Linked DNA regions of Homo sapiens: all the other regions are linked to region 6. Evidence: promoter capture Hi-C in 16 types of primary human blood cells and fetal thymus (Javierre and others, 2016). All regions are on one chromosome and are shown on one strand. Each heading gives the region's core, a stretch centred on a gene start or on the middle of the fragment in contact. The rest is flanking DNA. Distances are from core to core; before and after follow the strand shown.

Region 1 (3,649 bases), core at 496-2,995, 990 kb before region 6:
AATTACCAACACGGCCGGGCGTGGTGGCTCACACCTGTAATCCCAGCACTTTGGGAGGCCAAGGCAGGAGGATCACCTGAGGTCAGGAGTTTTGAGACCAGCCTGGCCAACTAGGTGAAACCCCGTCTCTACTAAAAATGCAAAAATTAGCTGGGCATGGTGGCACACCCCTGTAATCCTAACTACTCAGGAGGCTGAGGTGGGAAAATTGCTTGAACGCAGGAAGCAGAAGCTGCAGTGGGCTGAGATCACGCCACTGCACTACAGCCTGGGCAACACAGCGAGAGCCCATCTCAAAAAAAAAAAAACATCACCAACATTTGCCATTTTCAAAATGTCCAGGTTTTTAGTTCCTGGAATCAACAATCAGTTCAAATTCTAAGGTATTATGTAGTAATTCTCAGACATTAATAATGGTTCTAAAATTATTAGGGATGCTTGATTTGCCCACTGCAAACTACAAAACACCTTCTGGCAATGACAGACTAATCTTTGCACCACAGCTCATAGCTCTAAGGCTGATAGCTGGCAGAGCCCACTTTGTTCTTGTATATCCTAAAAATCAGGAATATGACTATGAGGAGACAGTGAGACCTACCCTCCCCACCCCGAGAGGGTAGCTAATAGAGAGGACCTCCGATTTCCATTCACAAGTGGAATGAGAATAGAGGGAGAAAAATGGCAGACAGAATAACCAGGCAAAAAAAAAAAAAAGACTAGAGGTGACTAATAAGGCAAACAGCAGAGGATACTGCTGTATCCACCCGTGTTCCAGTTACTAGAGTTACAAAAGTCATTGCTATTAACCCCAAAAGAAAGGCAGTAAAATAGTCAAGTGAAACTTTTCTCTCGCACCCCCAAGAGCTCAAACTAAAATTGGGATTTGGCTCTTCCTTAAATGGAACAAGTGGCTACATCAAGTTAATTCAAAAGACTTGGTATTTACTCAGCCTTTTCAAGGCACTTTACCATCATTAATTATTTCTCAGTGAAGCAGCAAAGGATTACCCTGACCATTTCACTGATGCGGAAACAGACACCAACAGCAAAGGGAACAGGGGCAGGAAGAGGGGTGATAGGAAGCATCTGGGAGGAACAGGCAGGCAGCTAAAAAGGAACAAGCCCAAAAGAAAATAAGAGTCACATCTGGCTTATAGCTGAGGATCATAACCCTTATTTGTTATTTCTGAGCTCAGAGATTTCTGCAACATTTTGAAAAAACAAAGTGCTTTAAAATACCAGTTAAAACTTAATTACAGCTTAAACTACTTAGTAATAGAAATTGCTTAGTATTAAAAAATACCCAATCTTCAGAGCACATATTGATTTCCATTTATACCAGCAACTCATTTTTCCCCTCAAGCTTAACCAGTATGTTATCTATTTGAACCAGAAAATAATCTCATGAAAATATATAGCTTTATATAATCCTAACCAAAAAATCACAAAGTTAACATCACGTAAGTCAGAAATAGTTTGCAGCTACACTCAGAATTTTGTTTGGAGAATTATGACAAAAATACTGACTTCTCGAGTTCGCCCTTTGAATGAAAGGAATACTTGTTCTACATTCGTATTGATTTTTTTAGCTATAACTCCCTGAAATTTTCAGGAATAAACTATGGGTGGAAAGCCTTAAACACCCTGAAATTAGCACACGTAGTGGGCTCTGAATAAACTGAACTCCATAGTAAAGACAGCACAGGTGCTTAATAAAGATGTGTTGATGGAATCATAAATCAAAAGGACTGATCAACCACCTCATGAGAAAAACTGATACACCTTTTTTAGACTGACTGTAATGATTTTTGAACGTTATGACACTATCAACTTTAAAGCACCCGCACATATAATGCAGTAGAGTTACAGTAATCTTTTTTCCAACTACCAATTCCAAAGCAAATCAGGTTCTCTGGGGTAAACAAGTATACATCCTTAAGAAGTTCATATGGCTGCATGATGTATATATAAAGTTCATTCAAAACTTTCAAAGCCAGTTTAAATGGTGTTTTTTCTTTACATTCTATCAAACTGTTTTAAAGGTTATAGATAAAGCTAAACACAAGGCATCAGGTGAATACTCATAAACTCAATCTTTTCTCAAAAATCCCACTGGATTCATTTCCAAAAGCTTATTTTCACATTCCTCCCATTAAATAGAAAAAAAAAAAAAAAACACACAAACAGCCTGAAAGCACATTCGTAATTGGAAATATTTTATTTAATGAGTAATTAAGAAAAATAAAAGAAAGGCAAAATCGTCATTATTGAAAAACATTTCCCTCGCTGTTATTGAAAAGAATTAAATATGCGTTTATGAACCATTGTTATAAAACAATTGCTCATCATAGGCAGCTGTACTCCATAAATGTTGTACATCTTAAAATACTTTTCCCTCAAAACAGAAATATGAATAGCTCTGGGGGCATTAAAATGTAGCAGCATCTGAAGCTGTTTTAGGGAAAAAAACAACTATCTCCAATACTTTTGTAAATCATATGATCATAAGCAACTTATTCACTTTCCCTGCCTCAGTTTACCCCCACTAATCGATCCATTAACTTTCCAGAGAAGACCTAAAGTAAGTCATAAACGTTAATCTCCTAATTTACAAACAAGAAGCAAATTTCAAGTTGCAATCACACTTTGTGATGCTTGACAAATGTTTAACAACCTCTTTTTAAAAAATAAATAGTCTCAAATGGGAGCCTGTAAGTAAATACTTGTGCTGCCCAAACATTTGGGGTTTGGGGGAGCCGAATTACAAGTCGGCCCAGGAAGCTATCTATGTACAACCTTGAGGCGCAAAATCGAGCAAATTCGCCTAGACCCATTCTCCCTCCGGCTCTTCACACCTGGATGGGGCGCAAGCACGATACAGGTGGAAAAAGCGAGAAAGGTAAGAAACCATTTCGAGACTGTTTCTAAGTGACGGCAGCAACTTTTTTTCGGTCAGGCCGCGAGGCCGCCTCTCCGCCCCTCAGGAGGCTTAGAGCCCCTCCTCGCCTCCCCGCCAGCCCCGGACGGGACGCGCATTCCGGTCCCGCTGCACCGCTAGGGTGAGCCACCGGCGCCCCCAGCCCCCGCCAGGAGCCCGGCGGCGCGCACCTTGGCACCAGGATTTGCGCCCGCACGCCGCCACAGGCGCATCCTTCCGGGCCGACGTTTCCCTCCCAAACTCCAAAAGTTATCTCAGCCCAGACCAGGCAAAGTCTACCTCCTTCCTCCGCCCCGCCACCCACCGTGATGCCCCCCAGGCCCCAGCCCGGCCCTACCCACGGCAGGGAGGATGCGCCGGAGGGCGCTGTCGGCGCTGCAGGCGAGGGGACGGGTGGAAGCTATCGGCCGGGCGCCCAAACCCCGCGGCGGCGAAAAGGCCCCGGGGCGGCGTGAGGGGAAACGCGAGATCGGCTGAAGGGCGTCCGCGGAAGGCGCCGGGGGCGGGATACCCTATCGCGAAGCCGAACTGAGATGGGACATAGGCGGGATCGTAAGGGGGCGTTCCTCGCACGGGACGCGCGCTGATGGCTTCTACCCGCCCGCCCACGGACAACGGTCGGGGTCCGGGACACACCTCCGCCTCTCCATTCCTTACGGGGCCCGGAATCACCACGTACCTCCAGTCTCGTCGGTGAAAACAACGAAATTC
Region 2 (3,907 bases), core at 615-3,114, 940 kb before region 6:
TGGGTAAAGTGGCGGATTTTGAAAATCAGACAATAAAAAGCTACATTGGGGTTCTGAGAGAGAGAAGCTTGAGCAGATGAAAGTTAAGGCACTGGCGAACGCAGTGGCTCATGCCTGTAATCCCAGCACTTTGGGAGGCCGAGGTGGGCGGATCACTTGAGGTCAAGAGTTCAAGACCAGCCTGGCCAACATGGTGAAACCCCATCTCTACTAAAAATACAAAAAAAATTAGCTGGGCATGGTGGCGCATGCCTGTAATCCCAGCTACTCGGGAGGCTGAGGCAGGAGAATCGCTTGAACCTGGGAGGCGGAGGTTGCAGTGAGCCGAGATCACACCACTGCATTCCAGCCTGGGCAACAGAGCGAGACTCCATCTCAAAAAAAAAAAAAAAAGTCCAGGCACTGGCATTCCAAGCCTGGCAGCTGGGAATAGAGTGTGGCATGTGATGAGCTATTCAGGCTTCACCTGGGCTGGTGCGTGGCTATCATTGGTGTCAGTGGCCTGCAACAGAGCCAGAACAGTGCAGAAATGGTGGTGTTAGGTGATGTGTTCACATGGATATTGAACTCACAAGGGCCTGCCTGTGAATCACCATGTGCGGACTTTATAATATCAGCTGACACTTACTTACGGTGTGCCAGGCACCATTCTAAATCCTTCACATGTGTTAAACCACTCAATTCTCTCAACAAGCCCAAGAGGTAAGTGTGATTAGTATTCCCCATTTTGTAGATGGGTAAACTGAGGAAGGCAGCACTTAAGTAAGTTGCCCAAGGTCACACAGCTGGGAAGCGGATGAGCCAGAATTTGAATGTAAGCGGTCCGGTGCCAGAGTCCATGCTCTTAACCACTGTACTGCCTTTATACAAGCAGATGCCTGAGTCCAACCAGGATGATGGTCCTGGATCCTTCTCATTTGTCCCTGTCCTGTTTTTTTGTCTGAGTTTGGTCTCCCTCTGTGTGTTAACTCTTAGCTTTGCAAAAAAATATTGATCTTGTCTCCGGCCTTTGGAACACATGTTTGTATTTGGTCTTTCCAGTGGAGTCTCAGGTGGCCTCTGACTAGATTTGTCTCTCTGGGTCATCATAACCCACATTGCTCCAACCAGCATCCTGGGTCCGACTGCAGACACTCTTACTCTGAAACCGGCTTGCTCTCCTTTGATTCCAGCCTCCCAAGGCCCTATCCTTGACCTCCCATCTCTGGGGTTAGCTGGGTCGAGTAAACCCCCAGTGGGGAGGCCCAAGTGCATAGCAGCTCAGGGATCAGACCCTTGCCCCACCATGACCCCCTCTGATGGCTGATACAGGGAAGATTTGGAGACCTGGGGACTTGCTGTCCTGGCAGACACAGGTTTCAGCTGAGGCCAGGGGATGGAGGTAGGGAGACAGCAAGAAATTCGGTTTAGAATGCAGGGGAACTGGCCTCATCAGGCACCATAGGATGGCCTCAGGGATGAGGGGAGGGGGCAGGCTAAGTGAAGTGGGGTCAGGAATGAAAGCACAAGTGGTGACAGTGGGAAGGAAAAGCCGAGCCAGAGAGCCCCATTGCTAAGGAAAGCTGCGGTGATCGCGAGAGCCCTCTGCCCGCTGGAGTCCTGCTTGGGTGTGAGAGGGACCTGGGGTTCACTGTTCAGTCGCTTCTGCTGGACACAAGCCTTTTAGTCTCTCAAACAGAGGTTGTAACTCTTGTGAGTCCTGGCCTCTGAAAATCTGGTGAAAAACATGGACCATCCCCTAAGACAGTCGTAGGAGTGCACACAACCAATCCACATTCTGCATGTAATGTGGGTGAGCCATAGCTCCCTCTGGAAATAAACCCTGGATCTCAGGGTAAGAATTCCTGCTCTAGAACTTTTAACATCACCCCCATTCTTTTTTTGTTTTGTTTTGTTTGTTTTTGAGACAGAGTGTCACTCTGTCGCCCATACTGGAGTGCGGTGGTGCGATTTCCGCTCACTGCAACCTCTGCCTCCCGGGTTCAAGTGATTCTCTTGCCTCAGCCTCCCTAGTAGCTGCGATTACAGGTGCGCACCACCACGCCTGGCTAATTTTTGTATTCTTAGTAGAGACAGGGTTTTGCCATGTTGGCCAGGCTGGTCTTGAACTCCTGGCCTCCAGTGATCCACCCACCTCAGCCTCCCAAAGTGCTGGGATTACAGCCATGAGCCACCACACCCAGCCTCAGGTAGTTCTTTATAGCAACGCAAGAACAGACTAATACACAAAGTGATGCATCTACAAGCCAAGTAATGCCAAGGATTGCCAGCAAACCACCAGAAGCTGAGGAAGAGGCTCTCACAGCCCTCAGAAGGAGCCAACCCTGCGGACACCTTGTTCTCACACTTCTGGCCTCCAGAACTTCGAGATAATAAATGTCTGTTATTAAACTGCCCAGATTGTGGCACTTTGTTGCAACAGACTGAGCAGATGAATACAGTGGAGGAGCGCCTGTGGTTCTTGTTTGGGCACAGAGCTGTGAGTGCATACACTGGCTACTGCATCATACGAGGAAATGGAGAGAAGGCAGGAGGGAGGGAACATGAAGTACACTGAGGCCCAGGTCTAGAGGCCAGCTGGTTGTGGGCTAAAGGCGGCAGCAGACAGATTTGCTTGGTTTTAGGATTGAGCAGGTGTCAGAGCTGGGAAGTGCTGAGAAATGAGGTCACAGAGTGAAACAGGCAACAGCTCAAAGAAAATCAGATGAGGGCGGGGTGTGGTGGCTCACACCTGTAATCCCAGTACTTTGGGAGGCCGAGATGGGGTGGATCACTTGAGCTCAGGAATTTGAGACCAGCCTGGGCAACATGGTGAAACCCCGTCTCTACTAAAAGCATAAAAAGTAGCCAGGTATAGGTGGCTCATGCCTGTAATCCCAGCTACTAGGGAGGCTGAGGCACAAGAATTGCTGGAACCCAGGAGGCGGAGATTACAGTGAGTCAAGATTGCACCACTACACTCCAGCCTGGGTGACAGAGCGAGACCCTGTTTCAAGGAAAAGAAAAGAAAATCAGATGAGGTTTAGGTGGATTTGGTCATGGAAAGAAAGGCCTTGGGGCGAGGGAGGCTTGGATGCCACGAGTAATCTCTTCAGCCCTCACCTCCGTACAAACAACTTTAAATCAATATACAATCGCTTGAACCTGGGAGGCAGAGGTTGCAGTGAGCCGAGATTGTGCCACTGCACTCCAGCCTAGGGGACAGAGCAAGACTCTGTCTCAAAAAAAAAAGTAAATAAATATACAATTTAATTAAAAAGTGTGTTGATGTAAACATACAATCTTTAGGAGAGGTTGCATAGACCAAGCTGTTGTCCTAAGCCCCCTGTATTAGTCTGCTAGGGCTGCATAACAAAATACCACTGAGTGGGTGGCTTAAACAGTAGAAATTTATTCTCTCACGGTTCTCAGGGCTGGAAGTCCAAGATCAGTGTATCAGCAGGTTTAGTTTCTCTTGAGGCCTCTCTCCATGGTTTGTAGATGGCCACCTTCTTGCTGTGTCCTCACATGGCCTTTTCTCTATGGATGTGAACCCCTGCTACCTCCTCCTCTTCTTATAAGGACATCAGTCATATTGGATTAAGACCCTACCCTAAGTGCCTCATTTTTTCTTAGTTACCTATTTAAGGGCCCAATCTTCAAGTATAGTTACACTGAGGATTGAAGCTTCAGTATATTAATTTTGAGGCTGGGTGAAGTGGCTCACACTTGTAATCTGCAGCACTTTGGGAGGCCAAGGCAGGAGGACCGCTTGAGGCCAGGAGTTCAAGACCAGCCTGGGCAATAGAGTAAGAGCTTGTCTCTACAAAAATTAAAAGAAAAATTAGCTGAGCGTGGTGGCACACACTTGTAGTCCCAGATACTCGGGAGGCTGAGGTGGGAGGATCCCTTCAGCCTCAGAGGCAGA
Region 3 (3,591 bases), core at 472-2,971, 670 kb before region 6:
CCAGATACTTTTTGTATTTTTGTAGAGACGGGGTTTCACCAGGTTGGGCAGGCTGGTCTCAAACTCCTGACCTCAGGTGATAGACCCGCCTCAGCCTCCCAAAGTGCTGGGATTACAGTCATGAGCCACCGCGCCCCGCCGTCATACACAATGTTTGCCCCCTAGCAGATAGTCAGGGATGAGCTCTTAAAAGAAGGGACCAAGGAATGAATGAATGAATCTCCATGCCAATCACAAAGAAGAGAAATCCGAGAGTGAGCCCTGGGAGTGTCTGACAACCAGGAGTATTTAGATCTAAGCCTTGAAAGAGTCTGCTTAGATTTTCTTGCTGAGGAAAGAGGAGGGGGCAAGGAGTAAAAGGAAAAACAACAAAACCCCAAAGCATCTTAAAGTAGTCAGAGTTACTGGGACAAGTTGCAGACTATTAATTGCAAGGGGAAAAAATCCTAACAGACAACTGGTTTACATGATCCCTACTTAGAAATATACCTTGGGGTTTGCAGAATGACCTTGGAATTATATTGTCACCAGTCTTTCCAAATACTGAGAAATGTGACTAAGTAACAAAAGTCATCAGCCTGGGAAACATGGTGAAAACCCCTCTCTACAAGAAATACAATAAATTAGCCGGATGTGGTGGTGCGTGCCTGTAGTCCCAGCTACTAGGGAGGCTGAGGCAGGAGGATGGCTTGAGCCTGGGAGGTTGAGGCTACAGTGAGCCGTGAAACCAAGAATTCTGATTCTACTTGTGTGAGTTTCGCTGTGTCTGTCTACCAGGTCATTTGCAGAGCACAGAGACCTCCTTCTCCCTGCTTTTTAATTTATTTTCTATAACACACAAATACACGATGTCCACAAAGAAGACAGGCAACCAATTTCTAACATCTGGATGAACCTGAGGAGAAATTCTGAGCAGATGGGTACTTGAGAATTGAGAGAGGCATGAAAGAATATTATTTCAAAGATTGAGAGGGAATTGGAACTGGATGACATTTTACAGATTTGCCCTTATTTTTTCCTAATTGAAGCATATCACTTCTGCTAGGGTCATATTTAGAAATTTTAAAATGAGTGAGTGTACTGAGTCTCCGAGGTTTCCTGACTCTCAGTTGGATTATGTTTTTTATTAGATTCCAGTGGTACTGGGTATGTTACGTTAATCCATATTTAAACTAGGTTGACCTTACACCCCAATTTGCCCTGGATGGTCCTGGGTTACACCTGTCGTCCCAACAGAATTATTAATAGCATCGTCCTCCACCGTCAATAGCATTCCGGTTTGGAATATTAAATTCTACAATCACTCCCACTTTGACTCCTAAAAGTTTTCCAGAATATGCCATACTTTCTCATTAATTGTTGCAACTTATGGCTATTTTATAGATTTCTGAGACCCATCCTGTTTTCTGTTGGATTTTAAGCATCCTTTGAACTTTAGAAGGCTCCTCACAGAACTGGAAAGCCATCCACACAAAGACAACTGTTGTTCATTAATAACACATGTTAGTTAATTAACGTGTTGCTAATTAATAATATTTATATTATTCAGGCTATATTCCTATTTATCAACGATATTAATTAAATTATGTATTAAGTATGCAATGAATGTCAATGGTTGAATAGCACATACCTTCATAGCCAAAGAGAAGTAATAACAAAAAGCCTTCTATCTTGCGTGACATCTTCCCCTCGTCCTCGGCCAAAGCTCTACCTTACTGAACTGGAGAGCTGGCCCAGGAGCAGGGGATTAAGTTGAGCCCTGGCCTCATTAAGCATCTTAATCCATTTAGTTCTTAGGTCTTTGGCTGAGCCCCATCAAGTTAACCCACAGAGTTACCTGCCTCAACAAGGAAGTCTCATGGAAGATACTAGCATCAACTGAGATTCAGTTCGCGAGGAAGATACTTTTCGTTCTTTTTTTTTTTTTTTTTTTTTTTTTTGAGATGGAGTTTCGCTCTTGTCACCCAGGCTGGAGTGCAATGGCGCCATCTCGGCTCACTGCAACCTCTGCCTCCCGGGTTCAATCTAGTCTCCTGCCTCAGCCTTCCGAGTAGCTGGGATTATAGGCTCACGCCACCACGCCCAGCTAATTTTTGTATTTTTAGTAGAGATGGGGTTTCGTCATGTCAGTCAGGCTGGTCTCGGACTCCTGACCTCAGGTGATCCACCCACCTCGGCCTCCCAAAGTGCTGGGATTACAGGCGTCAGCCACTGCGCCCGGCCCATACTGTTCATTCTATCTTAATGTAAGGGAAGCAATGGAGGGAGAGAACTACAACCAGAAGTCTCAGGTTTTCGTCCTTTCTTCGCCATCATTTTTTAGGGGGTGACCTTGAACAATTTCCTGCCACATAAGCACTAACATTCTCGAATTGTATGAAAATGTCATGGATTCCCCTCTTTGAAAGCAACTAGGCATCATGTGCACACCTATTCACTCAGGAAAATGCTAAATTTGGTGGTGGTGGGAGGACAGTTAACACAAAGCTGTGCATTGCTGTGTTACTTTTAACAACAACAAATTGGAAACAATCTAAATGGCCAAGGTTAGGGGGCTGGTTAAGTAAATCAAGAGATGAGTGCAGCCTGGTAGGTTTAAGAGCACAGACTGCCAACCCAGACTGGGTGCCAAATCGCAGCACTAGCACTTGTTACATTGTGACCTCAGGGCAAGTTATTAATATCTCTGCGCCTAAACTTTCTCATCTGTAAGATGATGATAATAATGCCTACTTTCGAGAGTTATTTTGAGGCTTACAAGAGATCATATGTATAAAATACTTAGCACAGTGCTAGACATAATTAGCTATTATTTTTACATCACCATTCAGAATAAAGTTGATGGGAGGAAAAGGGGAGTTGTTTAATAGGTATAGAGTTGAGTTTTGCAAGATGAAAAAGTTCCCGAGATCTGTTTCACAACAATGTGAATATACTTAACACTACTGAACTGTACACTTAAAAATGATTATGGTGGGCTGGAGGTGGTGGCTCACACCTGTAATCCCAGCACTTTGGGAGGCCAAGGCAGGCAGATCACTTGAGGTCAGGAGTTCGAGACCAGCCTGGGCAACATGGCGAAACCTCGTCTCTACCAAAAATACAAAAATTAGTCGGGCGTGGTGGCGTGCACCTATAATCTCAGCTACTCGGGAGGCTGAGGCAGGAGAATCGCTTGAACCCAGGAGGCCGAGGTTTCAGTGAGCCGAGATTGTACCACTGCACTCCAGCCTGGGTGACAGAGCCAGACTCTGTCTCAAAAAAAAAAAAAAATGGTTAAGGTGGTTTTAAAAAAGGCCGGGCACGGTGGCTCAAGCCTGTAATCCTAGCACTTTGGGAGGCCGAGGCGGGCGGATCACGAGGTCAGGAGATCGAGACCATCCTGGCTAACACGGTGAAACCCCGTCTCAACTAAAAATACAAAAAATTAGCCGGGCGAGGTGGCAGGCGCCTGTAGTCCCAGCTACTCGGGAGGCTGAGGCAGGAGAATGGTGTGAACCCGGGAGGCAGAGGTTGCAGTGAGCTGAGATCACGACACTGCACTCCAGCCTGGGCGACAGAGTGAGACTCCGCCTCCAAAAAAAAAAAAAA
Region 4 (3,711 bases), core at 989-3,488, 970 kb before region 6:
TATGAATAGCTATCCAGGGGATGCCCCACAACTCCCTTTCTCTCCCGACCTTGCCAGAGTAAGGTTTGCATTGGCTCAACCCAGCTTACCCCACCCCAGCCTGGCATCTCACTCACTCTTCCCTAGTCCCAGCTTCTCATCTTGAATCATTGCCTGTGCCAGTTTTCCTCTTCATCCCCAACAACCACATCCCCATTCCCTATTTTTTCACTCCAGAGATCCAGGACTATTCCTCACCTCTCTCAACGTACATTTATTTAATACCAGCCACTTTCACTCTGTGCAATGCACTGAGTTAGCTACAATAGAAGGTAAACCTAAGAAAGCCCTGGCCTCAAGAGCTTGCAGACCAGTGGAGGAGATGACATTTATACAGCAGAAACCATTATCAAGGAGAAAGGAATGTGCCAGGTTTTGCCCATACCCATAAAATCAACACTGAATCAAATCCCAGGATTGATCTAACCTAAGGCAAGAGACATTTAACAGACTCCAGCCCCTGGAAGGCCAGACATAAGCATCCAGCTACCCTTCCACATCATTTGATTCTGATATGGGACCTTAATTCTTACATCCAGAATTCTTACTTTGTCACTGCCCCAAGTACCTATTCTGGAAACTTGCTTAACATCTCAGTCTCCTACTGGGGGCTCTAGATCTTATCATTGGATTCTACCTTGGCCTTTGTCCCTCATTTTTGGTTCTAATAACTTTCACAGTCTATCTTTTCTTTAACCTGGGATCCCTGCATGAACTGGAGAGCTTCCCCGGAACTGCAGCTACTAGATGGCACCTTCTTCTTCGTCCTCCTCATCTTCATTCTCCTCCTCAACAACTTTATTGAGGTATAATCAACATAAGAAGAACTGCACATATTTCATGTATACAATGTGATGAGCTTGGACATATGCAAACACTAGTTGATAACATCACCACAATCAAGGTAATATACATGTCCAACACCTGCTAAAGTTTCCTTGTTTTTTTCTTTTTCTTTTTTTTTGAGATGGAGTCTTGCTCTGTCGCCCAGGCTGGAGTGCAGTGGCGCAATCTCGGCTCACTGCAACCTCTGCCTCCCGGGTTCAAGAGATTCTCCTGCCTCAGCCTCCCAAGTAGCTGGGATTACAGGCACCTGCCACCATGCCTGGCTAATTTTTGTATTTTTAGTAGAGACGGGGTTTCACCATGTTGGTCAGGCTGGTCTTGAGCTTCTGACCTCAGGTGATCCACCTGCCTTGGCCTCCCAAAGTGTTGGGATTACAGGCGTGAGCCACCACACCCAGCCCTGTTTTTGCTTTTGTAGTAAGAACACTTTGTCGGGCTCGGTGGCTCACACCTGTAATCCCACCACTTTGGGAGGCCGAGGCGGGCAGATCACGAGGTCAGGAGTTCGAGACCAGCCTGACTAACATGGAGAAACCCCCGTCTATGCTAAAAATACAAAAAATTAGCCAGGCATGGTGGCAGGCACCTGTAATCCCAACTACTTGGGAGGCTGAGGCAGGAGAATCACTTGAACCCAGGAGGCGGAGGTTGCAGTGAGCCAAGATTGCGCCACTGCACTCCAGCCTGGGCGACAGAGAAAAACTCCAGCTCAAAAAGCAAACAAACAATTTTTGTCTTGAAAAACAAGGAGCCTTTTTCCTGTGTGGGACTAGTTTACTTATAATTACCAGCTGATTGGACTGGAACCTATACACTTGTTTATTTAGCCTCCGATATCAATATAGCTCCCAAGAACCAATCCCTCATTATACCTTTAACTGCAACCGCCAGACACAAACGAGCCATCCAACTCCTACCCCTTTTGGTAAGCCTAGAAATAACAGCGGGAGTAGGAATGGGAGTTGGTGGGCTTGCAACTTCCCTGTCCTATCACCAATGCTTGTCCAAGGGTCACAGAACTCTCGCCCCACTCTGTCTAGTGGAGGGTGGCTTCTTGATGGCCGGTGGTAGGGTCTTCACCTGGAACTGGCTGGAAACCTTGTCGCAGGATCATCTGAAGCTTGATGGTCTCTAGGCAAGAGGAAATGAATTCGGTTAAGAGATTTAACAAAGATGGTCCAGGCCAGGCACGGTGGCTCATGCCTGTAATCCCAACACTTTGGGAGGCTGAGGTGGGCGGATCACCTGAGGTCAGGAATTTGAGACAAGACTGGCCGATATGGTGAAACCCTGTTTCCACTAAAAATACAAAAATTAGCCAGGCATGATGGCACGTGCCTGTAATCCCAGCTACTCCAGAGGCTGACACAGGAGAATTGCTTAAACGTGGGAGGTGGAGGTTACAGTGAGCTGAGATCATGCCATGGCACTCCAGCCTGGGCAACAGAGCAAGACTTCGTCCCAAAATAAATAAATAAATAAAGTCCAAAAACCAAAACCAAGACAAGTGTAATAATTAATAATTGGCCAGCCAGAGGAAGGAGCCATGAACTTAGCATTTTTGACCAGGAGCCCCATGACTCAGACAAGCTTTCAGACAGCTTGGAAGATACACAATCAAATAGACTCCTTAGCAGCAGTTGCTTTACAAAATAGAAGGGGACTGGATCTCCTAACTGCTGAAAAAGGTGGCTTATGTCTTTTCCTAGAAGAATGCTTTTTTATATCAATCAATCAGGATTAATAAGAGATGACACCAGAAAACTAGCCAATTGGGCCTCTAAGGTACGACAACAGCTGTCCAAGTCATGGGGCTCCTGGCCAAAAATGCTAAGTAGGGGTTCATGGCTCCTTCTGCTGGCTGGCCAATTATTAATGATTATACTTGTCTTGGTTTTTGGACCATGTTTGTTAAATCTCTTAACCAATTTCGTTTCTTCTTGCCTAGGGACCATCAAACTTCAGATGATCATGCAACAAGGTTTCCAGCCAGTTCCAGCTGAAGACACTACTGTTGGCCATCAAGAAGCCACCCTGTCTCCACTAGACAGAGAGCGGCGAGAGTTCTGTGATCCCCAATGGTAGGGACTACACCCCAAGTCAGCTGGAAGCAGTCACATAAGAAAGACCATTGGTCCCTCTGCCTCCCATAAAAATGTATGGGGATCACATCTCTCAGTGGGGAAATGAGGCAGGAGAATAGGGTCTGGAGGCAGGGAACCCAAGGCCAATTCACACTGACTTCCTAGTACTGAATCAAAAGGAAAACCCCACCTCTCCACACCCAAGTAACAAAAGGATCAGCGGCTACTCCCTTACCACTGCGTCACAGATGAAAAATGGAAAGCACCTCTGATTGGTCCCCTCCCGCGACCAATCAGACTGATTGCAGGCCAAGTTGTTTGTTTGTTTTTTTTTTTTTTTTGAGACAGGGTCTCACTCTGTCGCCCAGGCTATAGTGCAGTGGTGCGATCTCCGTTCACTGCAACCTCCACCTCCTAGGTTCATGCAATTCTCTTGCCTCAGCGCAGCCTCCCAGGTAGTTGGGACTATAGCGCGTGTTACCACGCCTGGCTAAATTTTGTATTTTTAGTAGAGATGGGGTTTCACCATGTTGGCCAGGCTGGTCTCGAACACCCGCCTCAGCCTCCCAAAGTGCTGGAATTACAGGCGTGAGCCACTGCCTTTGTAACTTCACTTCAGCCTCTGATTGTTCGCCTCCCATGACCAATCAGACTAGTCGTTGGCCAAGTCTTCATTTACATAGGGTATAACCAAGTAGCCAATGGGAAACCTCTAGAGGTTATTTAAACCCCAGAAAATTCT
Region 5 (3,579 bases), core at 753-3,252, 900 kb before region 6:
ATAATAGGTGTGTGTGTGTGTGTGTGTGTGTGTGTATGTGTATCTACATTGTACAATACAGGCATACTTTGGAGATAGTTTTGGTTTTAGACCACCACCATAAAGCAAATATTGCCATAAAGCAAGTCACACAAATTTTGTGGTTACTGAGTGCATATAAAAGCTTTGTTGGCTGGGCGTGGTGGCTCACGCTATATCCCAGCACTTTGGGAGGCCAAGGCAGGCAGATCACCAGAGGTTGGGAGTTCGAGATCAGCCTGGCTAACATGGTGAAACCCCATCTCTACTAAATATACAAAATTAGCTGGGTGTGGTGGCTCCCACCTGTAATCCCAGCTACTCGGGTGGCTGAGGCAGGAGAATCGCTTGAAGCCAGGAGGTGGAGGTTGCAGTGAGCTGGGATTGCATCACTGCACTCCAGTCTGGGCGACAGAGTGAGATTTGGTCTCCAAAAAAAAAAAAAAAAGCTTTGTTTATACTATACTGTAGTCTATTAAGTGTGCAATAACATTATGTCTAAAAAAAAAAAGCACATACTTTAATTAAAAATAATTTATTGCCAAAAAATGCTAGCAATAATTTGACCCTTCAGTGACCCATAACCTTTTTGCTGGTGGTGGGTTTTGCCTTAGTATTGATGGTGACTGACTGATCAGGATGGTGGTTGCTGAAGGTTGGGGGATCTGTGGCAGTTTCTTAAAATAGGACAGCAATGAAGTTTGCCATATCTGTTGACTGTTCCTTTCATTGTAGGTTCTTCTGTAGCATACGATGCTGTTTGATAGCGTTTTACCCACATTAGAACTATTTCTCCAAGCCTGCTGCTGCTTTATCAACTAAGTTTATAGAGTAGTGTATTTTTGAAATAGTCATTTCAAAAATGTTTAAGGCATCTTTACCAGTAGATTTCATCTCAGAAAAACAGTTCCTTTGTTCTTCCATAAGCAGCAACTCCTTTGTCCATTCATGTTTTATCATGAGATCACAGCAATTCAGTCATATCTTCAGGCTCCTCTTGCCTTGGCCTCCCAAAGTGGTAGGATTGTAGGTGTGAACCACTGCACCTGGCCATATCATTTTTTTGTGTGTGTTTTGGGTTTTTTTAGACGGAGTTTTGCTCTTGTTGCCCAGACTGTAGCACAATGGCACTATCTTGGCTCACTGCAACCTCTGCCTCCCGGGTTCAAGCAATTCTCCTGCCTCAGCCTCCCAAGTAGCTGAGATTACAGGCATGTGCCACCACACCTAGGTAATTTTGTATTTTTAGTAGAGACGGCGTTTCACTGTGTTGGTCAGGCTGGTCTCGAACTCCTGACCTCAGGTGATCCACCCACTTCAGCCTCCATATAATCTTTGTGTCTTTAAATGGGTATGTCTTTCCTTCTGCTAGGCCGTTAGTGCTGGTATTTGAGTTAATCTAGTTAGGAATTGGTGTAGCCAAGTCCAAGGTTGTACTACTCACCAAATGACAGCCAATAAGTTAAGAGACAAGGTGTTGGCGCAAAGAAAGCAACCTTATTTGGAGAGCCAGCAACCTGAGAAGATGGTGGACTAGTAATGTCCGAAAGAACCATCTTAATATGAATTTTCGCCTCCTTTTATGTTAGAGGAAGAGGGAAGAGGGAGGAGGTTGAGGTCAAGAGATGACTATGATGACCACAGACATCTAGGTGGCAGTGAGGGTCTGTGGAGGTTGTGAAACTTCTTTGTCCTTGGTCAGGTCACAATACTATAAATCTTTAACATGGCTGGGCATGGTGGCTCACTCCTGTAATCCTAGCACTTTGGGAAGCCGAGTCAGGCAGATAACTTGAGTCTAGGAGTTCAAGACCAGCCTGGGCAACATGGTGAAACACCGTCTCTATCAAAAATACAAAAATTAGCTGGGTGTGGTGGCACACACCTGTAGTCCCGCTACTCAGGAGGCTGAGGTGGGAGGATCACCTGAGCCCAGGAGGTCGAGGCTGCAGTGAGCCATGATTGCACCACTGCACTCTAGCCTGGGTGACAGAGTGAGACCCTGTCTCAAAAAAAAAAATCATTAACAACGTTGTTACTTGTGTGTACACTGCCCCTATCTCTTCAGGGGTTTTCAGAAGGGACTATTTGCTTTAAACTATAAACTGAATTTCTCCCATAGTTAGATGGTTTCACTGGGTGGTGGTGGGGGGGCTTAGAAGCAAAATGATGTTAGTCATGCTAGGCTTCCTTTTCACTGTTACATTGGGCTGGATTTGAGTTTTTTTGTGTTGTTATGGTTAACCTAGTGTACCCCAGTTTTCAAATTCTCTTAGAGATACTTTGTGATCAGGGTGGGAATTGGTTTACCAGAACAGTGTCTGTTCCAGTCTAAATTTCAGGTCTCCCCTTCGAAGTGTGCTTTAGTGAGGGTCTCTTTACATACTCTTGATTTTCTCCCGTCCCTTTCTCAGTGATATTCTGCTCTTACTGTTCCTGGAAGTTTGTTTGCTTGGAGGTGGGGAGGGGTGATAGGATGTGGTCTCTGTTCTTGATTAAGCCTCAGTTTCAGGCCTGACTCTCAGGATCTTGCCCCTTCCCTGGCTGTTGTATTGGGCTCAATGTGGAATCCTACCCCTCTCCCAGGACTTGGGCCCCCACCCCTCCTCCCTGCTGCTCTGATTTTTCACTATTGTCTTAAGGGTAGAAGTAACCATTGTCCTTTCTGTCACAGTGAAGGCTTGTCTTCCTGAGTGGAGATAGGGGAGAGTGATCTGAGGGTAGTGTCCAGCCTCTCAGGCTTAGCTGCTGCCCACCCCCAGGTTTGCATCACAATGAGCCTACCTCAGGACTCTTTAGAGCTCTGAGTGAGTGGGGTGGGGGAGTTGGAGGAGGAAGACCCTACAGGAAGTTGAGGTATCATATCCTCAATTTCTGTGACCCCCAGTGGTTTCACACTATCTTTTCAGCAAGCCACATTGGATTTCACGCATTTACTGACTCTTCTACCCGTTCTTTTTGGTGTCCAGCTGTACTCTCCAACAGGCGAGCACATGGTCGTCTCCTCTCTCCCTTCAGGTACTCTCCTTAGTTTTTGAGCCAACTGGTTGCTCTGTTGGTTTTTTTGTTTTGTTTTGTTTTGTTTTGTTTTGTTTTGTTTTGTTTTGAGGCGGAGTTTCGCTCTTTCGCCCAGGCTGAAGTGCTGTGGCGCGATCTCGGCTCACTGCAAGCTCCGCCTCCCGGGTTCACGCCATTCTCCTGCCTCAGCCTCCCGAGTAGCTGGGACTACAGGTGCCCGCCTCCACGCCCGGCTACTTTTTTTGTATTTTTGGTAGAGACGGGGTTTCACCATGTTAGCCAGGATGATCTCAATCTCTTGACCTCGTGATCCGCCCGCCTCGGCCTCCCAAAGTGCTGGGATTACAGGTGTGAGCCACCGCGCCTAGCGCTCTGTTGGGTTTAAAGAAAGTCTTGAATTTGAAATTAGTTCAGCTCTTTTTCATTGTAGTTCTCTTATTCCAGGGTTTAAGCCAGAAATTTGGTTACTCTTAAAATTTTAACATGAGCGTTTCCTTAAGTCTAAGCTTAATTATTATTCCTGTCCTCCTGAATAAGACCAAG
Region 6 (3,776 bases), core at 841-3,340:
ATGATAATTCTCACCTGCAACAGTTACTGTGGTCTTTGCCAAATGGTGATTTTCTTTTTCTATTTTCATCATTCCTTCTATATTAATTAATTGGAATTCTACTGTAAGGAAAAGTTGTTCCTTCTAACCCATTGATTTGTTCAATCATGTATTTAAGTAGGACCTATATTTTACTTGTTCCTTGCTATATCTTCAGTGTGTAGTACAGTGTCTGACACAAAATCGGTGCTCAATAATAGGTGTTGGATGAATGAGCAAATGAATGAATGAATTCATATTCATATGGCCTACAGAGTTCCCGTACATGCACAACCAATATCACCACCCCGTGGAGATGACTCCCAAATTAATATTTTTAGCAAATGTTCCAGACTTACAACTCCAACTTCCCGGGGGACATCTTCAGATAGCTGTGCCACTGCCACCACCAGGTCAACATGTCCCAAACCATTCAGACCAGCTTTTTCTCCTGAGCTGGACATCTGGCCTCCAACCTTTTCATTCTCTTTTACCTTTCATATTCTATCAGCAGCAGCAGCTGCTGAAATCATACCATGCAAGTTTCTCACGTCCATCTCTGCCTTTTAATGGCGCCCTCTCACTCCTTTAAGAAGTTTTCTTCCACTGCAACACGATCTCTCAGTCCAGAGTCTGGCCCAGTGCCCAAATTATTTCTCTAGCTATGCTGAGAGCTGGTCATGCTTTGAACTTCTGCTTTGAATACTTTCAGTGACACTGGGAGAGAATTATCTCATTGGACCATTGTCATTGTTAGAAAATTCATTGTTATGCTGAAATGAAATGATTTTATTCACACACACACACACACACACACAAAATAGCTCTTCCTCCTGGAACATGACTGGCCTGAAAATGTGTGAAGACATATCCAATCCTCTCTGGTTTTACTGTTCATCCAATTTTCTGTTCTCCTCCTGGCAGGAGGATTATATTTCACCTTGTGGAACTCAGACATGGTCGGGTAACTAGCTCTGGTCCGTGAAAATTGAGAGGAAGTGACATGTGTCACTTCTGGGCAGAAGCTTTGAGAGCCGGTTTAAATGATCCCTTTTCTCTTCATCCATGAGACAAGCTAAGTTCCAGAGAGAGGGTGCCACGCTGTGAGGGACCTGTGTTACGAGTACGATGGCTCGCGTCACTTCAAATTCTTGAAATCACTGAAATTTGGAGGTCAGTTGTTACATCATAACCCAGCCAATTCTAGTTAGCCTGTTTTCTTCCTAACTTCTTTAATCGTTCTTCATAAGTCACAATCGCAGCCCCTCACCGTTCTGACCACTGTCCCCTGGATTCCACTCAGTTTACTCATTATCCCCCTTAAAATGTGGAGCCCAAATCTGAACCCGGAACCCCAGGTGCAATCCCACTAGGACACAACACAATGGGTTCCTGAGCCCTTTGATCCTCTGAATAGAGCCCCTTGTTGCTTTGGTGTTTTGTCTCTGTGTGTGCTTTTATCATCGGCTGAGCCACGCTGTTAACTCGCAGTGAGCCTGTGAACCAATAACTAGAGAAAAAAGATTTTTCCCATTGTCCTCTCGACATATATTGGGAAACAAATTTTTTGATCCGCGTTCAAGTAGACAGGGCAGAACTGTCCAACTGCTACGTGATCTTTTAAAGACAAAGTTAGTGGCAGACCATTTACAGAAACCAGATGTTCTGTCTTTTGGCTCTGAGCATGCTGCTAATCTTCATCATCTAGTGTACTGAACGAGATGTACTGAACGAGGGCTGCAGAGCTGCAGCACCGGCAGGAGTAGGCGCTCGGTAGGACGGGGCCTGCACAACCTCCCCGGTAGTCAGCAGAGCGGAATCTAGGAAGGCTCCTTTCCCGCGGCGCCCTGGAGGCGGGGGCCCCACCTTCCCACGCAGGCGCTATCAAGCCCCGCCTCCTCACCCGCCCGCGGCGTGGCGTCGGAAAGAGCCCTCAGCCCCTCCCTCTCTGGCGCTGATACCCAATGGGCAGCCTCAGGCCTTTAGCGGGGGCGGGGCACCCCCTGGACGCCGTTCTGGTTGGCCCGCGGCCCGGCGCAGCGCATGACGTTATTACGACTCTGTCACGCCGCGGTGCGACTGAGGCGTGGCGTCTGCTGGGGCACCTGAAGGAGACTTGGGGGCACCCGCGTCGTGCCTCCTGGGTTGTGAGGAGTCGCCGCTGCCGCCACTGCCTGTGCTTCATGAGGAAGATGCTCGCCGCCGTCTCCCGCGTGCTGTCTGGCGCTTCTCAGAAGCCGGTGAGACCTCCCGGGCGGGCCGGGATGGGGCGCGAGTGGGGCTGAGGCGGGGCCGGAGGGCAGGGCGGGCCAGGCCGGGCCACCCAGAGCGGGGTGGAAGGCGCCAGGGGAGCCGGGGAGCCTTTACTTCGCCTCCGCGCCCTGCATTCCGTTCCTGGCCTCGGGAGAAGCGGCACGGACCGGGATCACGCCAAGGTCCGTGTGAACTTCCCCCTTCTCGACACCCACCTCCCGCCCCCGGGCCCAGCTGTGCGCCAGGCGAAGTCGGTGTGCTCAAGAGGTGCCTGTTGGGTTACAGGACACGGAAAGGGTGGCCTCGGCCTCCTTCGAGTCTCCAATTGACCCCACTCATTTCGGATCTTCTAACTTAATTTCTCTTGACCGAGAGGCTTTGTAATAGCGTAGAATCTGGAGACAGGGTGGCTTCGTTCAAACAGCACCCTCACCATTGACTAGCCCTGTGACCTTGAGCAAGTTTTTAAACGTCCCGGGGACCCGGTTTCCTAAAATGTTTGCTCGAAGTGGAGTTAATCTCTAAATGGAGATAAGAGTTATCTCTGAAATGTTATCAGTTAACTCTAAAATGGAGATAATAAGAGTCCCCACCTCTTGGGGTTGTCTTGAGGATTCAACGAGTGACACGTGTGGAAACGATTCCAAATAGCACCTGGCACATAATCGATAACATGTGTGTTGAATAGTGTTATTTATTGAGTCTCCAGTTCGGTATACATTTCTTGAACACCTGTGCTCAGTTCTGAGGCGGGTTCACAGAAGGTCAGCCTCTTCAGAAACAAACTTCCTCCTCTTCCCTCTCCCTCAACATCTGAGCTTTTCTTGGCAGTGAGTTCAGGAGCGCCGAAGCAGAACTCAGAGGACGCTGCCCTCCCCTCCCCTTACCTACACATTCTTAGGGTACAAGTAGCTAAAGCAAAGAGCAACGATGCTTGAGGGGTGGGGGGTAGAGTTTAGCACTATTTCATGGCCTCAGCATTTAGAGGTGCCTAACACCTGAGCTAGCATTCTGACCCCCCTAGGCACAGTGAGGTCGTGTTAATTGGTGTAACTGCAGGCCTCGGGATTCTGGTATTTCCCCCAGGACTTGATACCGCTCTACTTAGTACAGGCAGAGATTGTCAAAAGGTAAGAGGTATGCCCCTCTAGGAATCCTGTTGCCTAAAATAATGACAAAACTGCCGGGTGCGGTGGCTCAGGCCTGTAATCCCAGCATTTTGGGAGGCTGAGGCAGGTGGATCACCTGAGGTCAGAAGTTCGAGATCAGCCTGGCCAACATGGTGAAACCCCGTCTCTACTAAAAATACAAAATTAGCCGGTCGTGGTGGCGGGCTCCTGTAATCCCAGCTACTCGGGAGGCTGAGGCGGGAGAATAGCCTGAACCCGGGAGGCGGAGTTTGCAGTGAGCGGAGATCGTGCCATTGCACTACGGCCTGGGCGACAAGAGCAAGACTCCGTATTTTAAAAAAAAAAAAAAAAAAAAAAAAAAAAAAGCGTTCCCTT
Region 7 (3,987 bases), core at 1,159-3,658, 650 kb before region 6:
TTCTCCGTGAACTTTTAGGCATTTGAGGCAGTAATAGTGAGGGTTTTGAAAAGAAAGCCCTGGATATTTTCTAGGACTTGTTTTTTTTTTTTTTTTTTTTGGCGGGGGGCAGGCGTGGAACAGAGTCTTACTCTGTCACCCAGGCTGGAGTGCAGTGGCACTGTCTCAGCTCACTGCAACCTCCACCTCCCGAGTTCAAGTGATTTTCCTGCCTCAGCCTCCTGAGTAGCTGGGATTACAGGTGCCCGCCACCATGCCCAGCTAATTTTTGTTTTTAGTAGAGACAGGGTTTCACCATGTTGGCCAGGCTGGTCTTGAACTTCTGACCTCAGGTGATCTACCCGCCTTGGCCTCCCAAAGTGCTGGGATTACAGGCATGAGCCATCGTGCCTGGCCCAGGCCTTGTTTTATCAACATTCCTCCAAGAAACAAACTTTTCTTTGTTTACCATGTTCATGAACACAAAAATAGTTGATAAGGAGGCAATGGTGACAAAAAGAAAGCTGGAATCTGCCTTTCAATAAGCAAGAAATAGTCCTCTCATCCAGGTCATGTCGTCCACATTCCATTGGCAGGTATTGTCATATCTGCATCCTACATTGTGAGGTCACCAAGGCAACCTATTAATCATTCTAGAATCTACCTCTTGAAGATTACAAATGAGACTGGGAAACCCTCTTCAATAAGACCTGTGTGATGATAGATTGTGTCCTGAGCCCGCAGGTCAGGCTGAAAGAGTCAACAACCAGCAAAGTGAAGATCTAGGAGTCTGTTCCCCTTGAACCTGTGTGGACCTGATCAAACCTCGAGGGAAAGGTAAGAGAAGAGCACTTAGTGGACCAGGTGAATGGAGTATGATCCGGGTAGGCATGGGACAATGATCGAAAGTTAACCTGTGGCCTCTGTCTGTTTAGTTGTTTAGCCCAACTCTTGTGGTCTTTATGTTTTATGTATGAAGTTTGTTAAAAGCTTTAATATATATGTATAGGGTGAAACTGGGTCACCTTGATGTGCTGGTCACTGAGTCACAGGACTGTGACTTTGGGGAGGCCACCTAACTTCTCTGGGCGTGGTTTCCTCTCCTATAAAATGAAGATGTCTGAGGACCTTTCTAGACAAGTCCGAAGGATCAGAGTATCTTACCACATTTCAGCCTCACCTGTTACAGAGCTCTGGGCAGAGAACCTCATGATGGTCTTGCAAGGTGACTCCATTCTCTGTCTAGATCAGTTTTGCCCAATTCCCAGTGCTTTAACATGAGAGGGAGTTGCATCAGTGTGTAGTCTTTGTTTTACTTTTGTTCTTGGAATGGCAGATTGTAGCTCCTGTAGAAGGAAAAGAAGAAGAAATAAGGAATTAGCATTGCTCTACATTGACTCATGCTAGATGTCAATCTGAGATACATGTAAAACGTAAGCACATACAAGATAAAGAAACAGATTGTGGCAATATTTAAAAATATCCTAGCTTTCTAAATTAGAAGCAGTTCTGATAAGCCTATTTGGAATTCATGCAAAACATCCATAACTCTGACAGTCTGAATTGTACATGGCAAAGGTAAATTGCTTCCAGGCAGTAATTCTAGGTGCAGGTTTAGATGGACTATACGGTAATCAAGTCTCCATTGCTTTACAGATAGCCCTCACTCCTTGGCCTCTTACTTTCCAGATTGCTTCTTTGTTAGCCTCCCTGTTGGCTCCTTCCTCTTTTCATTCTCTTTAATGTCTCTATTCCCCAGTGTTCTGCTTTTGCCTCTATAGCTTTACTCTATAAGCTCTCCCTGGCTATTTTATCTTCTCTAATCACTTCAGCTATTGTCAGCAACCTGATGACCTATTTAATCTGACTCTCTGGTCCTGATTTATTTCCTGAGCTCCAAACCCAGGCTTCTCCTGCCTGTGGGATATTTCAACAGTGAGGTCTCACAAGTACTGAAATTTAGCACACTGCTGACTGAACTCACGATTTTTCTCCACCATAAACTCGCTTGTCCCCCTTCATGTCCGACTCTTGTACCCTTTAATACCCTATTGCAATGAATATCATCATCTCTTAGACTGTAAATTATAAGAAGGCAGAAACCATGTCTATCTTGTCCACCCCTTGTAACCACAGCACCTAGCATAGTGCCTGGCACATGGTAGACACCCAGTAAATATTGTCAAGTGAATGATGAATCTATTTATTCTTCCAAACTAAAAACCCTGGAATCCTCCTCGATGTCTCTGTCTCCCTCACTCTCCATGCCCAGTCTGAGACCTGTGGGGTTTGTTACATAAAACCCTTTTACATTTGGCTCCTTCTTCCCCTTCATCCCCGCTGCCATGACTTTAATTCAGCCCTTACCATCTATCTCCTGGATTATTGCAGGAGCCTCCTCATTGGTCTTCCTGTTACCTGCTTTTCCCCATTCATCACCATCTGATCCCCAGAGTGATCTTGCAGCTTGAATCTAATCAGCTTACCCTCAGGCTCCCCTTGACTTAAACAGAGTTTGCAATCTGGCAGCTTTAAGCGGAATCCACGCAGTCTGTACGGCATTTTGAGAAAATGAGAATGACTGTATTTTGTTGATTCTAAGATGCATTTTTTTTTCACATTTTAGCAGCTCTGATATTGGGATGTGTCTTGAAATGGACAGTGACATAGTTTGATCAGTGGTGTTCTCTCTTATTGGTACATAAAACAGCAGTGTACCCTGTAATCAGTGGCTTCATAAATTTGCTGAAAAATACTCATGCTAACATTTAAAAATAAGGAGATCGTACATAAAACTATCTTCAGCTTCTCTTGGAAAATTACATCAGGCAACACTGGGCTGCGATTTCTGGATAGCAGCCGAAGATGGAGCTACCAGTAAGTAGCAGCTACCTCATTTAGACAAAAACTCGCTACAGTGTCTCATGGTTTCCACCCAGGCTGCTTTAGTCATTTGTATTATCTGCCCCAGCCCATTAAGCATTTGAAAGGACAATCCCTGACTGATAAGTTGAAGTCCAGATTCTTTGTTGTGATTTATAAGAACACAGGTGGCACCAACCTACCTCCCCCAGGTTAATGCTCCCAACCTTTGCTGTGTACTCTATGTATCCCCTAATCTCAAATATAACAGACTCCCATGTTCCCTGGAATGTCTTTCTCTATCTTTTATGCCCTACGAAACATTTCCTGGTGTTCCCAGGTCGAGCTCATTTCTTTCTGGACTCCAGTAGTAAGTATGTGGGCGTATCTCTGCAAAAACCGCAGTTACTTTTGCACTAACCTAAAGTACAGTTCTGTGATTTATTTTTTATTTTTATTTTTTCGAGACGGAGTTTTTCTCTTGTTGCCCAGGCTGGAGTGTAATGGCGCAACCTTGGCTCACCGCAACCTCCGCCTCCCGGGTTCAAGGGATTCTCCTGCCTTAGCCTCCCAAGTAGCTGGGATTACAGGTGCCTGCCACCACGCCTGGCTAATTTTTTGTGTTTTTAGTAGAGACACGTTTTCACCGTTTTGGTCAGGCTGCTCTTGAACTCCTGACCTCAGGTGATCCACCCGCTTCGGCCTCCCAAAGTGCTGAGATGGCAGGCGTGAGCCACCACGCCCAGCCAGTTCTGTGAATTTTAACACATGGATAGATTAGCATAACCACCATCATCATCAGGATATAGAACATGCCCCCCAAAACTCCCTCCTGCTAGCCCTTTGTAGTCACTCCCCTCCCTCACCCATAAACCCCTGGTAACCACTGATCAGTTCCCTGTCACTATAGTTTTGTCTTTTTGAGAATGCGATATAACTGTCTGTATCCCTTTCAGCATGGCCTCTTCCACTCAGCATAATGCCTTTGAGACCCATCCAGGTTGTGTGTATCAGCTTCATTTGTTTTTATTGCTAAGTAGCATTTCATTGTATGGATGTCCCACAGTTTGTGGGACACTCACGGAAGGACATTTAAGCTGTTTTCAATGTTTGACCGTATGAACCTGCATACACGTTTTTGCATGA

Evidence for each region. The method cuts DNA at HindIII sites, captures the fragments that hold promoters and counts their contacts. A CHiCAGO score of 5 or more calls a contact.
Region 1: a fragment that was not itself captured here is called in contact with the fragment with the promoter of PDHA1 in region 6 in 14 of 17 cell types (total B cells, naive CD4 T cells, naive CD8 T cells and 11 more); the score reaches 14.8 in total B cells.
Region 2: a contact is called between a fragment that was not itself captured here and the fragment with the promoter of PDHA1 in region 6, in 14 of 17 cell types (total B cells, total CD8 T cells, endothelial precursors and 11 more). The highest score is 11.0, in total B cells.
Region 3: the fragment with the promoter of RS1 here is called in contact with the fragment with the promoter of PDHA1 in region 6 in 14 of 17 cell types (total CD4 T cells, non-activated CD4 T cells, naive CD8 T cells and 11 more); the score reaches 11.6 in total CD4 T cells.
Region 4: a fragment that was not itself captured here is called in contact with the fragment with the promoter of PDHA1 in region 6 in 5 of 17 cell types (activated CD4 T cells, naive B cells, naive CD4 T cells and 2 more); the score reaches 7.2 in activated CD4 T cells.
Region 5: a contact is called between a fragment that was not itself captured here and the fragment with the promoter of PDHA1 in region 6, in 8 of 17 cell types (naive B cells, total B cells, naive CD8 T cells and 5 more). The highest score is 8.4, in naive B cells.
Region 7: the fragment with the promoter of PPEF1-AS1 here is called in contact with the fragment with the promoter of PDHA1 in region 6 in 4 of 17 cell types (M2 macrophages, endothelial precursors, total CD4 T cells and 1 more); the score reaches 7.4 in M2 macrophages.

Annotation. Positions count from the first base shown.
Region 1 is chrX:18,350,975-18,354,623 of GRCh38, forward strand. It overlaps SCML2 (Scm polycomb group protein like 2), which reads right to left. Exons shown (of 15, transcript NM_006089.3): 1 at 3,618-3,649. Among named protein-coding and RNA genes, the nearest start is that of SCML2, 1.9 kb to the right of the region's middle. The HindIII fragment of the contact is 768 bases long and covers 1,362-2,129 here.
Region 2 is chrX:18,400,760-18,404,666 of GRCh38, forward strand. No RefSeq gene overlaps it. Among named protein-coding and RNA genes, the nearest start is that of CDKL5, 23 kb to the right of the region's middle. The HindIII fragment of the contact is 3,599 bases long and covers 66-3,664 here.
Region 3 is chrX:18,670,387-18,673,977 of GRCh38, forward strand. It overlaps RS1 (retinoschisin 1), which reads right to left and starts at 1,722. Exons shown (of 6, transcript NM_000330.4): 1 at 1,631-1,722. The coding sequence starts at 1,682. The HindIII fragment of the contact is 14,405 bases long and covers 1-3,591 here.
Region 4 is chrX:18,373,193-18,376,903 of GRCh38, forward strand. No RefSeq gene overlaps it. Among named protein-coding and RNA genes, the nearest start is that of SCML2, 20 kb to the left of the region's middle. The HindIII fragment of the contact is 470 bases long and covers 2,004-2,473 here.
Region 5 is chrX:18,439,388-18,442,966 of GRCh38, forward strand. The region is part of intron 1 of CDKL5 (cyclin dependent kinase like 5); the gene reads left to right. Among named protein-coding and RNA genes, the nearest start is that of CDKL5, 16 kb to the left of the region's middle. RefSeq lists enhancers at 2,690-3,191, 3,192-3,579. The HindIII fragment of the contact is 3,075 bases long and covers 466-3,540 here.
Region 6 is chrX:19,341,837-19,345,612 of GRCh38, forward strand. PDHA1 (pyruvate dehydrogenase E1 subunit alpha 1) reads left to right here and starts at 2,091. Exons shown (of 11, transcript NM_000284.4): 1 at 2,091-2,258. The coding sequence starts at 2,202. The HindIII fragment of the contact is 3,035 bases long and covers 1,042-3,776 here.
Region 7 is chrX:18,690,279-18,694,265 of GRCh38, forward strand. PPEF1-AS1 (PPEF1 antisense RNA 1) reads right to left here and starts at 2,409. Exons shown (of 3, transcript NR_046642.1): 1 at 2,347-2,409; 2 at 1,160-1,325. It also overlaps a transcript of PPEF1 not described here. The HindIII fragment of the contact is 4,386 bases long and covers 968-3,987 here.